Regions from separate parts of the Homo sapiens genome. Here regions 1, 2, 3 and 4 are each linked to region 5. The links are contacts of gene promoters, found by promoter capture Hi-C in blood cells and fetal thymus (Javierre and others, 2016). All regions are on one chromosome and are shown on one strand. Each heading gives the region's core, a stretch centred on a gene start or on the middle of the fragment in contact. The rest is flanking DNA. Distances are from core to core; before and after follow the strand shown. Region 1 overlaps ERN1 (endoplasmic reticulum to nucleus signaling 1). Region 2 overlaps ERN1 (endoplasmic reticulum to nucleus signaling 1). Region 3 overlaps ERN1 (endoplasmic reticulum to nucleus signaling 1). Region 4 overlaps ERN1 (endoplasmic reticulum to nucleus signaling 1). Region 5 holds the start of CSHL1 (chorionic somatomammotropin hormone like 1).

What was found. Contacts are between HindIII fragments. The CHiCAGO score rates a contact against its expected background, and 5 or more counts as called.
Region 1: a fragment that was not itself captured here is called in contact with the fragment with the promoter of CSHL1 in region 5 in 4 of 17 cell types (naive CD8 T cells, erythroblasts, total CD8 T cells and 1 more); the score reaches 6.3 in naive CD8 T cells.
Region 2: a fragment that was not itself captured here is called in contact with the fragment with the promoter of CSHL1 in region 5 in 7 of 17 cell types (naive CD8 T cells, total CD4 T cells, naive CD4 T cells and 4 more); the score reaches 12.9 in naive CD8 T cells.
Region 3: a contact is called between a fragment that was not itself captured here and the fragment with the promoter of CSHL1 in region 5, in 13 of 17 cell types (naive CD8 T cells, total CD4 T cells, total CD8 T cells and 10 more). The highest score is 14.6, in naive CD8 T cells.
Region 4: a fragment that was not itself captured here is called in contact with the fragment with the promoter of CSHL1 in region 5 in 6 of 17 cell types (naive CD8 T cells, total CD4 T cells, non-activated CD4 T cells and 3 more); the score reaches 8.8 in naive CD8 T cells.

Annotation. Positions count from the first base shown.
Region 1 is chr17:64,058,291-64,060,990 of GRCh38, forward strand. It overlaps ERN1 (endoplasmic reticulum to nucleus signaling 1), which reads right to left. Exons shown (of 22, transcript NM_001433.5): 11 at 2,179-2,297. Among named protein-coding and RNA genes, the nearest start is that of ICAM2, 39 kb to the left of the region's middle. The HindIII fragment of the contact is 9,403 bases long and covers 1-2,700 here.
Region 2 is chr17:64,110,813-64,113,512 of GRCh38, forward strand. The region is part of intron 1 of ERN1 (endoplasmic reticulum to nucleus signaling 1); the gene reads right to left. Among named protein-coding and RNA genes, the nearest start is that of ERN1, 18 kb to the right of the region's middle. The HindIII fragment of the contact is 944 bases long and covers 924-1,867 here.
Region 3 is chr17:64,039,729-64,042,428 of GRCh38, forward strand. It overlaps ERN1 (endoplasmic reticulum to nucleus signaling 1), which reads right to left. Exons shown (of 22, transcript NM_001433.5): 22 at 1-2,700. Among named protein-coding and RNA genes, the nearest start is that of ICAM2, 20 kb to the left of the region's middle. The HindIII fragment of the contact is 3,607 bases long and covers 1-2,700 here.
Region 4 is chr17:64,094,242-64,096,941 of GRCh38, forward strand. All of the region lies in intron 2 of ERN1 (endoplasmic reticulum to nucleus signaling 1), which reads right to left. Among named protein-coding and RNA genes, the nearest start is that of ERN1, 35 kb to the right of the region's middle. The HindIII fragment of the contact is 1,332 bases long and covers 626-1,957 here.
Region 5 is chr17:63,909,925-63,912,624 of GRCh38, forward strand. It overlaps CSHL1 (chorionic somatomammotropin hormone like 1), which reads right to left and starts at 1,334. Exons shown (of 5, transcript NM_022579.3): 1 at 1,263-1,334; 2 at 821-1,000; 3 at 496-611; 4 at 238-402. The coding sequence starts at 1,272. LOC112268204 (a long non-coding RNA gene) reads left to right here and starts at 1,996. Exons shown (of 3, transcript XR_002958148.2): 1 at 1,996-2,335. The HindIII fragment of the contact is 23,854 bases long and covers 1-2,700 here.

The sequences.
Region 1 (2,700 bases), core at 64-2,563, 150 kb after region 5:
AAGGCAAACACTTCCTCCTTTGATGGTAGGTTCAGTATCCAGGAAAACACTGAAGTCATCTGTAACAAAGTCTGGTGAAAAATTGGTATTTGATTTAATAATACCATTTCACATTAAAAGGAAATCCGCACGTATACAGAGGCACATGGCTAGAAAGCAATAAAGCAGTTTTCTCGTGTTGCCTGTAAACTGTCAGTGCAATCCCAAAATTATAATTTATTCCAGTAGTCCACTATTTCTTCAAAGTTTTTAAGAAGCATCAGAAGCGTTTGTTAAAGAAAATTTAGAAGCCCAAAATTAAATCAGATAAAAATGGAGCTTCCCTAGAGTTCCTCAGAATCTCTAAGACTTCACGGAACAGGCATTTAGAAAAATGCATTGACTCACTTTCAAATATCTAGTATTCTAGGTATGCCGTTATCATTTGCCCAACAAAACTAACACAGCCTCCCTGGCACATGCTGAATTTCCCACATGCTAAACCTCCCACACGCTCACGCCATTTCACCCCTCCCCCCAGATGGCTGCCTAGAATGTTCTTCTCTCCCCTCCAGGTGTACCCCTCTTATTCATGCCTCTCCCACAGTGCCTCCCACATTTTTGGGGGTTTGTAGCCTGCAGAGTATATAGGAAGCACCTGGGCATGTGGCCAGGGACATCTGTATGTCTCATCACCATACAGATGCACCTGAGAGTATTTTAAAACATACTTTTTCAAAGACCGTTATCCAAGACCAGATGGTTAAATACAAAGATTTGACACGTGGCTACCTCTGGGTGTTAAATTAAGGGCACTGTCTTATTTTCTTCTGTATGTGTTTATTTTCTAAGTGTTCAATAATGAATATGCAGGACTTTAATAAGATTATAGGACAATGCTGTTTAAGATTGCTGTTTTAGGAATCAATGTATTTCTCCAACCTGGCTACTTCCGTAGATGATGGTAAACAGATACTGTGCCCTGGAATCTTGAAAGTCTACAATTTCCTTTGTCTCTGGATAAAATCTAAATCTCTCAACTGAGTTTGTTGTGCTTTTGGTCTCGGCATCAGTCAGCCATTCTCTTCTTCTTCTGACCCTACTCATGTAGCCCAGGTGCATCTCTGTCCCTGGGCCCTCCATGGCAGGGCTGCTGAAGCTGCCAGGCCTGAATCGGTCACTAAGCCTCAGACGTCCCCTCTTCCCCTTCCCTGGCCATGTTGGGTTCCCTCCTGCAGAGCCACCCTTCCACCTCCTCCACCGGCTCTGTGCCCCAGAAGGCTGACCTGTATGGGCCAAAGCAATGGCTTCCCCAACCCCCTGGGGTTTTTGACTGGGTAAAGCTAACAGGGGACACCAGCAGATGAGAGAGAGAGGTAAGAGAAAGAGGTTGACTTCTGTGGGGCTGCTGAATTCCTCAACTGATGCTTTCAGCTCCCGGTCTAGAGTCCTTTCTACTCCCTCTCCTCTGGCTTTAGGCCAAGGTGTGCTAAGAGAGCCCCTGGAACTCTGTGCAAATAGTCCCAGGCCACTCTCTGTCTGCTTCATAAAACTTCAGATCTCATCACTTCTTCAACAATTTTTTTTTTTTTTTTTTTTTTTTTAGCAATAGGGTCTTGCTATGTTGCCCAGGCTGGTCTCAAACTCCTGGGCTCAAGCGATCCTCCTGCCTTGGTCTCCCAAAGCACTGGGATTACAGGTGTGAGACACCCAACCCAGCCTTCAACAACTCTTAAACTCCTCCACAGGGCTTGTTTCAGGCCCTGTAACATGGTTCCTTTTTACCCATGTGAGCCCATTTCCTACTACCCCCTACTTAGTAGCCTCGGGTCTGGCCAGGCCTTTCTCCCCACAGCCTGTGAGCTGGGCACACCAGCATTCTTCCCACTCCAGGCTTTTGCCCTTGCTGTTCCATTCCCTCCTGTGCCCTCTTGCTCCCTCCACCTGGCCAAATCCTACCCATTCATCCAGGTCCAGGCCTAGCTTGGTCCTGCTGCCTTTCCTGCACCTTCTTTCACAAGTTGCTTCCTATTCCTCTCCACTAGCCCTTAACCATTTATGTTTTTTGCTTTGGATTCTGGTGCATTCCTCTTCCCTCCCAGACTAGGCTGCAAGCTCAGAAGGCAGAGTCAAAGTCTAATGCCTCACCCTCCCAACACCTAACACCAACAACCCCCGACTGGTCGCTTCCTCACTCACTTCCTCAAAGCTCTTTTTCTCTGAATCAGCAGGAATCACATTTTCCCGATGTTTGGGTAGATTGTTGGGAAATCTCTCCAGCATCTTGGTAGACGCAGACAGTGGGGTTTCATGGTGTCCTATGACAGGAAACAAAACCTTTAGTGAGAACAATTTCCCGAGCTGTGGTGGCACTCAATGCTAAACTTAGGCAACAGGTGCTACCCACTGAGGGGTCCACAATGCAAACTCTCAGCAGGACTGTGAGTTAGAGAAAATGAGTGGCAGTTACCAGAAAATTCCATCAAAGCAGGACCCTTATTACTTCATGGCAGAATACAGTATTCCAAGTCTCCTACTGAGGAGTGAAGAAGTATCCTTGCATGACAGGGATCAGGACATTTGGGAGGCACCAGACGCAAGGCTCGTGGGGCTGCATGGGCCCGATCCACAGGTGAAGTATGATGAGGCTTCATTAAAAGTTCAAGGAGTTCTCCTTTCAATGCTTTTTCCTGTAACATCACTCTTCTATGGCCGCCGAAT
Region 2 (2,700 bases), core at 146-2,645, 200 kb after region 5:
CACGTTTGAATAGAGATTGGAAAGCACAAGAAACTGCTGGGAAGACTGTGCTGGCACAACCAAACCTTCCGAGTTGAGGCTCGAAAACAGGACTCAGAAAAAGGGGCAAAGCATGAGGAACCGGCCAAGAGCGAACAACGTTGCTTTCTCCAGCTTATCAAGTGGTCGGCAGGAAACAGAAGCAGGAAAGAATTACCAGCCAGAAGATAGCAAACCTATGGGCTCAAAGAGGAGGCCTTTCCAGACATCAAAGGAAGAACTCCCTCGTGAAAAGGGAAAAATGGCTGTCCCAGGCAGGAATGGACAAGGGACCATATTATAAAATATTTTTTAAAAGTTTGTTTTTATTTTTTACATTGACATATAAAATTTATATATACTTATGGTATACAACATGATGTTCTGATATATGTACACATTGTGGAATGGCTATAATGATCCTATAAAGGATATTCTCTGCTGTCATTCTCAGTTTTCCCAGGAATCTCTCTTTCTAAAGTCACTACCCTGGTCAGGCTTCCGCCTAGCCTGGAGGTCATCCAATGTTTTTTTTTTTTTTTGAGACAGAGTTTGACTCTTGTTGTCTAAGCTGGAGTGCAATGGCGCAATCTCGGCTCACGGCAACCTCCACCTCCTGGGTTCAAGCGATTCTCCTGCCTCAGCCTCCCGAGTAGCTGGGATTACAGGCACATGCCACCATGCCCAGCTAATTTTTTGTATTTTTAGTAGAAACGAGGTTTCACCATGTTAGCCAGGCTGGTCTCAAACTCCTGACTTTAGGTGATCCATCCACCTCAGCCTCCCAAAGTGCTGGGATTACAGGCATGAGCCATCGCGCCCGGCCAGGTCATCCAATCTTATTGCCATCTTCTCTAGGTCCCAGAAGTGGACCTGGGCATCTGGATTGTGGGGCAAGGTGGCTAAGCTTCCACATTTGTTTTTTCTTTTAAAAACTGAAGAATAGCAACATCTCTCTAAACACTAAGAAAGCAAAACAAATATTGAGAATTTCAAAAGTAAGAGTTATACAAATATTAAGGGAGACTATTTAATTTAAAAAAAAATTGGTGGCAGCCAAAGAAATCATCAGGAAGTAAACCAAACTCAAAAACCTGATAATCCACTGCTCCTCATCTCTTACCTCCATTGCTCCTCATCTCTTACCCTCATGGGCAGACAGCAATAATGTAACAACTGGTGCTAGGAGACAATCAGGAATAATTAAGGAAGAGTTAAAATATGTTTGGCTCGTGGTGTTCAAGAAGGAAGCAGTGGCCGGGAGCAGTGGCTCATGCCTGTAATCCCAGCACTTTGGGATGCCAAGGTGGGCAGATCACTTGAGGTCAGGAGTTCAAGACCAGCCTAGCCAACGTGGTAAAACCCCATCTCTATTAAATACTCAAAAATTAGCCGGACACGGTGGCACATGCTTGTAATCCCAGCTCCTCGAGTGGGTGAGGCAGGAGAATCACTTGAACCCAGGAGGTGGACAGCGCAGTGAGCTGAGATTGCACCATTGCACTCCAGCTTGGGCGACAGACCGAGACTCTGTCTCAAAAAAAAAAAAAAAGAAGAAGAAGAAGGAAGCAGAGTATAACTGCTGAGGAGGTTGTCAGTAAACATTACTATATTTTAAGTTATGGGATTGTATTTCCATCATTTGGAAACTCACCTATGATGCTGCGGCTAAACGATTCAATAGATACTTGTTAAGTTCAGTGTAGTTCCTGAGCAGTATAATGTGGTTGTTAAAAAGGTAGATTGTGGAGCCAGACCACCTCAGGCAATCACTTACCTCTCTGTGCCTTCAGTTTCTCATCCATAAAATGGGGATAATGCTAATTAACTTTAAAAAGTTGTTGGGAAAAGCTTCTGCACAGCTGAACACATGGAGATTCCTGATGGGTGGGGCATACCCCAAGGGCATGAGATCTCCATGCCCCTTCCCGCATGCCTTGCCCTATGCGTCTCTTCATCTGTATCCTTTATCATAAACCAGTAAATGCAAAAGTCACCAACTCTAGTCTAATTGGAGTGGGCTACACACAGACTCTGAGGCCTGGTGTGAGGCTCACACTGTCTGCTCTGGTAGACAAGAGATCATCAATGCTGGAGATCACAAACTTGGGTGTGCTCTGGAGGTGGAGGCTTAATCTAGCTGAAAGAAACCTCTGGGAATGGATATCAGAAGATCGGGCCTTAATATATTTCCACTGTGACTAGCAGGCTTTTTTCCCAAGAAGGTGATCCAAAGGATGATCTAAACAAAAGCTGTATTTTAAATATTTTAACAGTTACTGGTTAGTTGGTTCCCTGGCTATCTAGTTACCAGTGCGGCATCATGCAGTGACCTATATGTTTAAGCTGTTAAATGTGCTACCCCCACCAATAATGAGATAGACTTTCATGAGAACTGTGCAGCTGTGTGGATGTTTGTTTTTATGTTCCCTTAACCACTGCATATTGCCATTGAATGAGATGGATCAGTGGATATTTTAGGATGAGGTTAAAAACATTTTATTAAATTCAACCATGATTCACATTACTTTTGCTATCCTAGACCATTACAAATTATGAATAAAACAAGTATACATAATTAGTGGCTCCAAGTATTCGCAGAGTTAAACATTTCCAGCTATGGCCAAATCTCCCTGGTATCTAACACTTTATTTTTCCAGAGCATTTTGCCCTTTACGTAAA
Region 3 (2,700 bases), core at 95-2,594, 130 kb after region 5:
TTCTAGGTAAGTGGGGACTCCCCATCACAGCTTTAGGGACACTGAAAAGGAATACTGTATCCACCAAACACACACACAGTACACAGGGGAGGTGGGGGGGCTTTGGCCAAAGTGTTGGTTAAGGCTGCTCCAGTGGGAGGCTCACTGCAGTCACGTTCTTTGTGGCTTTCCAACGTCTACAGAAAGAATTTAAGCGCCGGTACAAAAAATCAGAACCAGAGTTACTCACGGGAAATCACTGTTTCATAAAGAAGGAGGGGAGTAGACCATTGGGTTTAAAAGATGATGTCCAACCTGGGAGGGTGGAATTTCGGCTCACCTGGAGAGGATGCCTGATGACTTCCTGCCAGGAGAAGCCAAAGCCAGGACATAGTCAACCAAAATAACTCCAGGTTGGTGAGGGAAGGGACAAGGAAAAGAAACACTGGGAAATTCAAAGAAAGGCAATCTCAGACACTAAAAGAGCAGAGAGAGAAAGCGACATGGGGGACTTAAAGAGGCTCCTTCCAGGGCGCTGGGCTTCTCTTCCAGCACAGAAGGCTGCAAAAGTGGAACTGGCCCCCAGTTCCCAGAGGATCACAAGGCCAAGGATCCAATGGGCACACCATGAGGACCCAAGGAAAGGACAGAGAAAGGAACGGCTCTGGGAAAGCCAAACCTGGCCAAAGTCCAACTTCCTGAAAAGAAAGCAGCCAAGAGGAGAAAGCCGTACAATCCAAAGGTCCCCCCATCTGCATGAACGGTTTGATCAGCAACCAATTAATCTCTCACTGCAGCAAGAAAAGAATTGCCAAAGATAACTGAATCGCATGCACACAAAACCTTACCAAAGGCTCAGGGTCAACTCTGATAAGGCCCTTTCTTCTAGAGTTGGTGGGAAGAAACTCTGCTGGATCTACTCACCTGCAGATCTTCCAGAACATCTATCTGTAACTGATCAGAGTGATGTCTCCTTGGAAGGGCCTCTGACCACCACTGCACTGAGAACACGGCGGGAGTGAGAACACCTGCGCACCCAGGATTTCACACTTAGCCACTAGATTGCTTCACAGCTAATCAGGGAAATGCCAGTGTTCCCCAGGTGAAAATGTTTTGGTGCCTAATGACTTGTGGAGCACTTCAAAAACTGAGATTAGGCCGGGTGCGGTGGCTCAAGCCTGTAATCCCAGCACTTTGGGAGGCTGAGGCAGGCGGATCACGAGGTTAGGAGATCGAGACCATCCTGCCTAACATGGGGAAACCCCGTCTCTACTAAAAAAAATATAAAAAATTAGCCGAGCGTGGTGGCACACACCTGTAATCCCAGCTACTCGGGAGGCTGAGGCAGGAGAATTGCTTGAACCAAGGAGGCGGAGGTTGCAGTGAGCTGAGGTCGTGCCACTGCACTCCAGCCTGGGTGACAGAGCGAGACTCTGTCTCAAAAAAACAAAAAACAAACGAAAAAACACTGAAATTAAAAAGACTCAAGAAGCAACAAGAGAAATTCTGGCACACGTGCCCAAGAGAGGTTTAGTAAGACAAGATTTAAATAAGTCATAGTGTCCTTTGGATTCCTAACAGATGTGACCAAGCTCCATCTTGAAGATAGCGTACAGTACTTCTAAAAAGCTCAACAGCCTTCCAGGATTGGAGAAGTCCCATAACCTGAACTACAGACCAAACAGCTAAGCCGCAACACGATATGTGATGGTGCAGAGCTGTTCTGGCCTGAAAAGAACTTTCCACTTGCTGAGCACAGTGGGAAACCAGAATTCTCGAGACTAGAACTGGATACACCAGATGATGCCCAAGGTGTTTTCATGACAAGTACCCACACGAGATCTCTTCAAACAAACCCCCCAGAGGATGGACGGGAACCAGGGCTCCTAAAGGCGACTAAGAGGAAAGACCAGAGGTGACCGGACCAGATCCCTGTGATTCTGGGACAGAAGAGATGTAAACCGCAAACACGCGCCCTTCCCCACACACTTTGGTTTCTTTGTGGCAGCAACACTTTTTTATTGTTCTCTCTCATCACAAGTTTTAGGAAAGCAGAAGTTTTGCCTGTCTTGTTCATCGCTGTATCTCCGGCACCCTATATCCTGCCTAGCTCAATACACTAAGTGCTCAAATAAAATACATTGAATAAATGATTTTGAGAAATCTGCGTGGTTAGAAACTAGTATGATAAGCAGAAAAGGCATCGGAAACAGTTGTCTCTAGGCAAGTGGGGCTAAAACAGGGAGATGACACAAAATTGGGTCACTAGAAATCACCTGGGTACTCCCAAAGAGAAAACCTGTGCTGAGAACGAGCTGGGCTGGGGGCACTCCCTGTGGCAGGCCTGTTAAATCACTCGTGGCACCTTCTCCACCTTCTGATCCTCTCTTGGGTTACTGCCAAAGCCCACAGGTAAAGCACCTTGCAGCCGTATGGGGAGCTCTGTCTCAGGCCACCTGGCATGCGGCATGGGAGCAGCAGGAAATGCGGTCTGGCCACGTTTCTGAACAACGCACAGCCTTGCTTAGAAGACGCCAAGGACACCGACCAAGGGCCAAGGTTCCAAGGCCTAAGTGAGGTAATCGATGAGATTTAAGGATGTAGGATCACGTTAATAGTAGGGAAAAAAGTCACTTTAGCTATGATGAAAGGAAGGGAACTGAATTCTACAAAGGCAGAATGAGAGCTTTTGATGAGTAACCATGATACAAATACACAAAC
Region 4 (2,700 bases), core at 42-2,541, 180 kb after region 5:
TCCAGTTGCCGTGGCTATGGTGGTAAACTATCCTGCACTTGTCTCCATCTGCATCAACAGGCACAGCATTTGTTCCTGGGGGGAGTGTCAGCGTGTGTCCGAGCATTTACATGCTATATCTATGTGATTAAAAAAATACTTTCCTATTATTTGTTTTAGATTACCAGTTCGGTAATATGTTTATTTCTTTTTGAAACTGTGTATACGTAGTTTACTGACTATAAATTTTGTTTCAGTAAGCAACTTTATAGTACATGTGAAGTAAAGGAAGCGCTGGGTCCCTCCTGCCCTGTATGACTGGCCCATCTCTCTCTGAGCTGATCTCCTCCCGCCACATCAACTCTGTGCTCCTCCTCTACCGTGCCAGGGACACTCCCATCCTTTCTTTTTTTTTTTTTTTTTAAGGACACTCCACCTTTGACCCGCTATGCCGGCTGTCTACAAGACTCCCTTGCCTCCTTGAGCTCTTGCTCAAATGACACCTTCTCCGTGGAGCCCTCCCTGTTTAAAACTGCAGACTCCCACCCCAACCTGGTACTGCCCATTCCATGTCCCCACTTCATTTTTTCTTCAAACCTCTCGTCACTACTAAGTAACTGATTTCCTGTTTTCCCACTAGAATGAAAGCTTTATGATAAAAGGGTTTGCCTGTTTTGTTCACTTGCTGTATCCTCAGGACCTAGAGTAGCATCTGGATACCTTTATCATTTATCTATATTTAACAATTTAGAAAAATGTTGAAATCTTCAGTTATAACCACAAGATTAAACTGAAAACTCAGGGTATCTGCACATTACCATCTTTAATCTTTGTATAGAAATATAAGTCAAGGCCACTGGTATCCAGGGCTGAACTAAAACATGCCAGTTTATTCTTAGAAAAACAGATCATCATGAATACTACTGGAAATTATTAGGCTGGGCACAGTGGCTCACATCTTTAATCCCAGCACTTTGAGAGGCAGATCACTTGAGGCCAGGAGTTTGAGACCACCCTGGCCAACATGGTGAAACTCCATCTCTACTGAAAATACAAAAATTAGCCAGGCATAGTGGCGCATGCCTGTAATCCAAGCTACTCAAGAGGCTGAGGCATGAGAATCACTTCAACCTAAGAGGCAAAGGTTTCAGTGAGCCAAGATCGCACCATTGCACTCCAGCCTGGGCAACAGAGGGAAACTCTGTCTCAAAAAAAGAAAAGAAAAGAAAAGAAATTATTAGACCTTAATTGGATTTATCTAATTCTTCTTTAAGTGTCTTGTAACTCCTCCTCCCTAGTCAGTCACTAGATTCTACTGATTCTATTTCTGGCTTGCCTCTCACCCTTCCCATCCCTCCTCCCTTTCCAGGTCTGCTTCCTGTTTCTAGTCATCCCACACACAGCTGCTAGAGTCATCGAAAAGCGAGCACCTGTTGAGTCACTCACCTGTTCAATCACATTAACAGCTCCCAATTTCCTGTTCAGTCAGATACAAATGCCTAAGTGCTCCATCCAGTAAGGCTCAACATCCCCTTGTAATCCTCCCTCCCTCTACCTGGAAACGCTAAGCTCCTGCTAAACGGGATAAGCTCCTGCACCCTAGACCTGCTGCCTCCTTCGCTCTTCTCCAGGCCTCACTCCTGACTGAACTCAATTCATTCACCAGGGTTTACCTCTGACACCCCACTTCACAGAGCCTCCTGCCCTCCAAATGGATGTGGGCTCACAGCACATTACTAGTCCCTCTCATGAGTGGTTACAGGACTCGGCTGTGTTGAAGTCCTGTGTTCTCATATTTTCACCATGGGTTTAGATCATGGGCTTCTTGAGGACAAGGTCTGCCTTTTTCATTTTGGGGTCCTACAGAACAGGGGTCCCCAACCCCCAGGTTGTGGACCCATACTGGTCTGTGGATGGGTCTGTGGCCTGTTAGGAACTGGGCCACACAGCAAGAGGTGAGCAGTGAGTGAGCAAGCAAAGCTTCATCTGTATTTACAGCCGCTCCTTGTCACTGGCATTACTGCCTAAGCTCCACCTCCTGTCAGATCAGTGGCAGCATTAGATTTTCATAGGAGTGTGAACCCTATTGTGTACTACGCATGCAAGTGTAGTGTGGCATGTTTCTTATGAGAATCTAATGCCTGATGATCTGTCACTGTTTCCCATCACGCCCAGATGGGACTGTCTAGTTGCAGGAAAAGAAGCTCAGGGCTCCTACTGATTCTACATTATGGTGAGTTGTATAATTATTTCATTCTACATTACAATGTAGTAATAATTATAGAAATAAAGTGCACAATAAATGTAATGCACTTGAGTCATCCCAAAACATTCCCTGCCCCTGCTCCCCCGGTCCATGGAAAAACTTCCACGAAACTGGTCCCTGATGCAAAAAAGGTTGGGCACTGCTGCTATACAGTATCTCTCACATTCTAGGTTCTCTAAATACACATTCAATTGAGTTAAAAAGAGGCAAATTCTTTCAGCTCTAAGTTAGAAGAGAAAACAGGTTAATTCTTATGTTTGACTAAGTAACGGAGAGGACACAGTTTTGTTGCATACAGATGACATTACTTGCAGAAATGAAGACTTGGAAAAAACCAACTTAAAGCATTATGTGCAGGGAAAAGCAAAGCAGAATGAAGTGGCTCAGGGTGAAGATGCCCTGCCTGGGAACAATGAAACTGAAAGACATGCCCTAACATTCCACAGCCAAAGTGT
Region 5 (2,700 bases), core at 84-2,583:
GAGAAGGAGAGACCAAGCGCTTGGGCACTGTTCCCTCCCTCTCTCATTTATCCATTTTCCTCCTTCCCCTTCAGGGTGTAGAGAAAGGCCTGGAGGATTCACGAGGGGAAATGAAGAATAAGGTGAGTTCTCTTGGGTCAGCGCCTGACTGCTGAAAAGAGGGCAGCAGTGTTTCTCTCCCCCAGCCCTCGAAGCCAGTGGGCTTCCAGGATTGGGGACCCCTGGTGCCACCCTCACCCCCATCAGCATTTGGATGCCTTCCTCTAGGTCCTTTAGGAGGTGATAGTCATCGCTGTCCGAGGTGTCATACACCAGGTTGTTGGTGAAGGTACTCCTGAGGAACCGCACGGGCTCCAGCCGCGACTCGATGAGCAGCAGGGAGATGTGGAGCAGCTCTAAGTTCTGCAGGGGAAGGACCGGCAGTGGCTGTGCTGCCCGGGGGCTCTGACCACAGGTCTCCCCCATCCCCGCCTAGGGGAGACAGCATCCACTCACGGATTTCTGCTGCGTTTCCTCCATGTTGGAGGATGTCGGAATAGAGTCTGAGAAGCAGAAGGAGGTCTGGGAGTCATGCAGGAATGAATACTTCTGTTCCTTTGTGATATAGGCTTCTTCCTAGGGGAAGGACCCCCCACCAAGAAGGACCACTGCTTTCTATGCTGGAGACCAGCTCCCACTGTTACTCTTCTGGGAACCTGGCTCAGCCTATGCTCATCTGCCTGCATTTTCGCTTCAGAAAACAACCCTGAGCTCCTTAGTCTCCTCCCATTACTTCCCCAGTGGGGGAAAGTCACCCCTTCTTGCCACCCCTGACCCGCACCCATTCCCCAAGAGCTTATAAACTCCTGGTAGGTGTCAATGGCCAGCTGGTGTGCGCGATGGGCTTGGAGCATAGCCTCTTTAAAAAGCCTGGATAAGGGAACGGTTTGGACGGCACCAGCCTCTTGAAGCCAGGGCAGGCAGAGCAGGGCAAAAGCCAGGAGCAGGGACGTCCGGGAGCCTGGGGAGAAACCGGAGGGCAAGAAGGGAGCCGCAGAGCAAGAGGCCAGCACTCTCCCTGTTCCAGGAGCTGTTTTCTTTTTCTCTCTCTCCATCCCTCCAGGGACCAGGAACATTCAGAGATTGGCCAAATATCTGGCCTTAGATGGCGATATTCACATTCAGAAGCCCCAAACCTGAGGTTAGTGCCCCCGTCCCATCTGCAGGGCGCCGCCTCTCCCCTCAGGACACGTTGTGCCCAAAGGGATTTTAGGGGCGCTTACCTGCAGCCATTGCCGCTAGGTGAGCTGTCCACAGGACCCTGAGTGGTGCGGGGAGTCGGGCCTTGGGATGCTGGAGCTGGTCTCTTGTGGGCCCTTTTTATACCCTGGCCCCTTCTCTCTCGCTGTTGCCCCCACCTGTTTCTGTGCACATTTATGCATGGGGCCACTGACGGGCTTGTGCTAATGGATAATTTGGAAGCTCCTCCCACACATGCTGGCATCATGTCCCCTGGCTTGTCATCTTTCCCTTCCCACCGTCACCAGCGTTGTGAGGGTTGTGCACAGAGTGTCAACCACAGACACCACCCAACTTGTCCTCTCTTTAAGGTTCAGGTGGGTGCCCTCTGGCAGCAGGCCATGGTGGCCAACCTGAATGCGGAGAAGGATGTCAGGATAGCCAGTCCTTGAGACCCCTATCGACCACATCCCACTCTCTATCCTATTCCTTTCCTCCTCCCCGCATGTTTAACCTCCACCCACCAGACAGAATGTGTGTGTTGGGAAAAGGGGCCAAGCACAGCCAATAGATTGTGGGGGTTGTGAGCATGATTCAGTCCTGAATTCCACTTCTGCTGACGACTCCTGGGCCCACCTGAGTCAGCTGGATGCAGTGCTAACACTGACCACTAGAGGGAACCAACCCCACACTTTGATCTCCCCTTTCCCTGAGCCTTGGGGCGGGGCGGAGGGAGGGGGTTGGGTGGGGGGCTCCCCCAGGTCACTGGGGACGAAGAACTCAGACTCTCAAGGTATTGCCCCAGCTCCCTGGACCTGCAGCAGAGACACAAACCAAGAAACCGAAATCCCGGGAACAGACACGGACCACAAGCGCTTCCTCCCATAGCCCTGAAACCATCAGAGAATCTCAAAGTTGGAAGAGCTCTTGAAGATTTGAATCTCTTCCCCAGCTTTGGAACTCAAAACACATCACGCCGAAAGATGCCCTATCCATCCATGGAAGCCCGTCCTCTTTTTTCTCCTCCTCCTTTCCACACCTGTATAGAGCCTATCCAGTTGCGAAGGGCCTGCCTGTGCATTCTCACGTCTGACCTGCCACTTGTCTTGTGTAGGAGGTATGATTATCATCCCATTTCACATATCAGGAGACTGAGGCTCAGAGAGACTGATTGCATGAGCTACCTCAGCCAGGGCAGCAGATCTCCACAGCCTTGCTCTTCCCACTTTGTGTCATTTAAAGTCCTTTCTCCAGGCCGGGCACGGTGGCTCATGCCTGTAATCCCAGCACTTTGGGAGGCTGAGGTGGGTGGATCACTTGAGGTCAGGAGTTCAAGGCCAGACTAGCCAACATGGCAAAACACCAACTCTCTAGAAATACAAAAGTAGCTGTGTGTGGTGGCGCAAGCCTGTAATCCCAGTTACTCCGGAGGGTGAGGTGGTAGAATCACTTGAATCCAGGAGGCAGAGGTTGCTGTGAGCC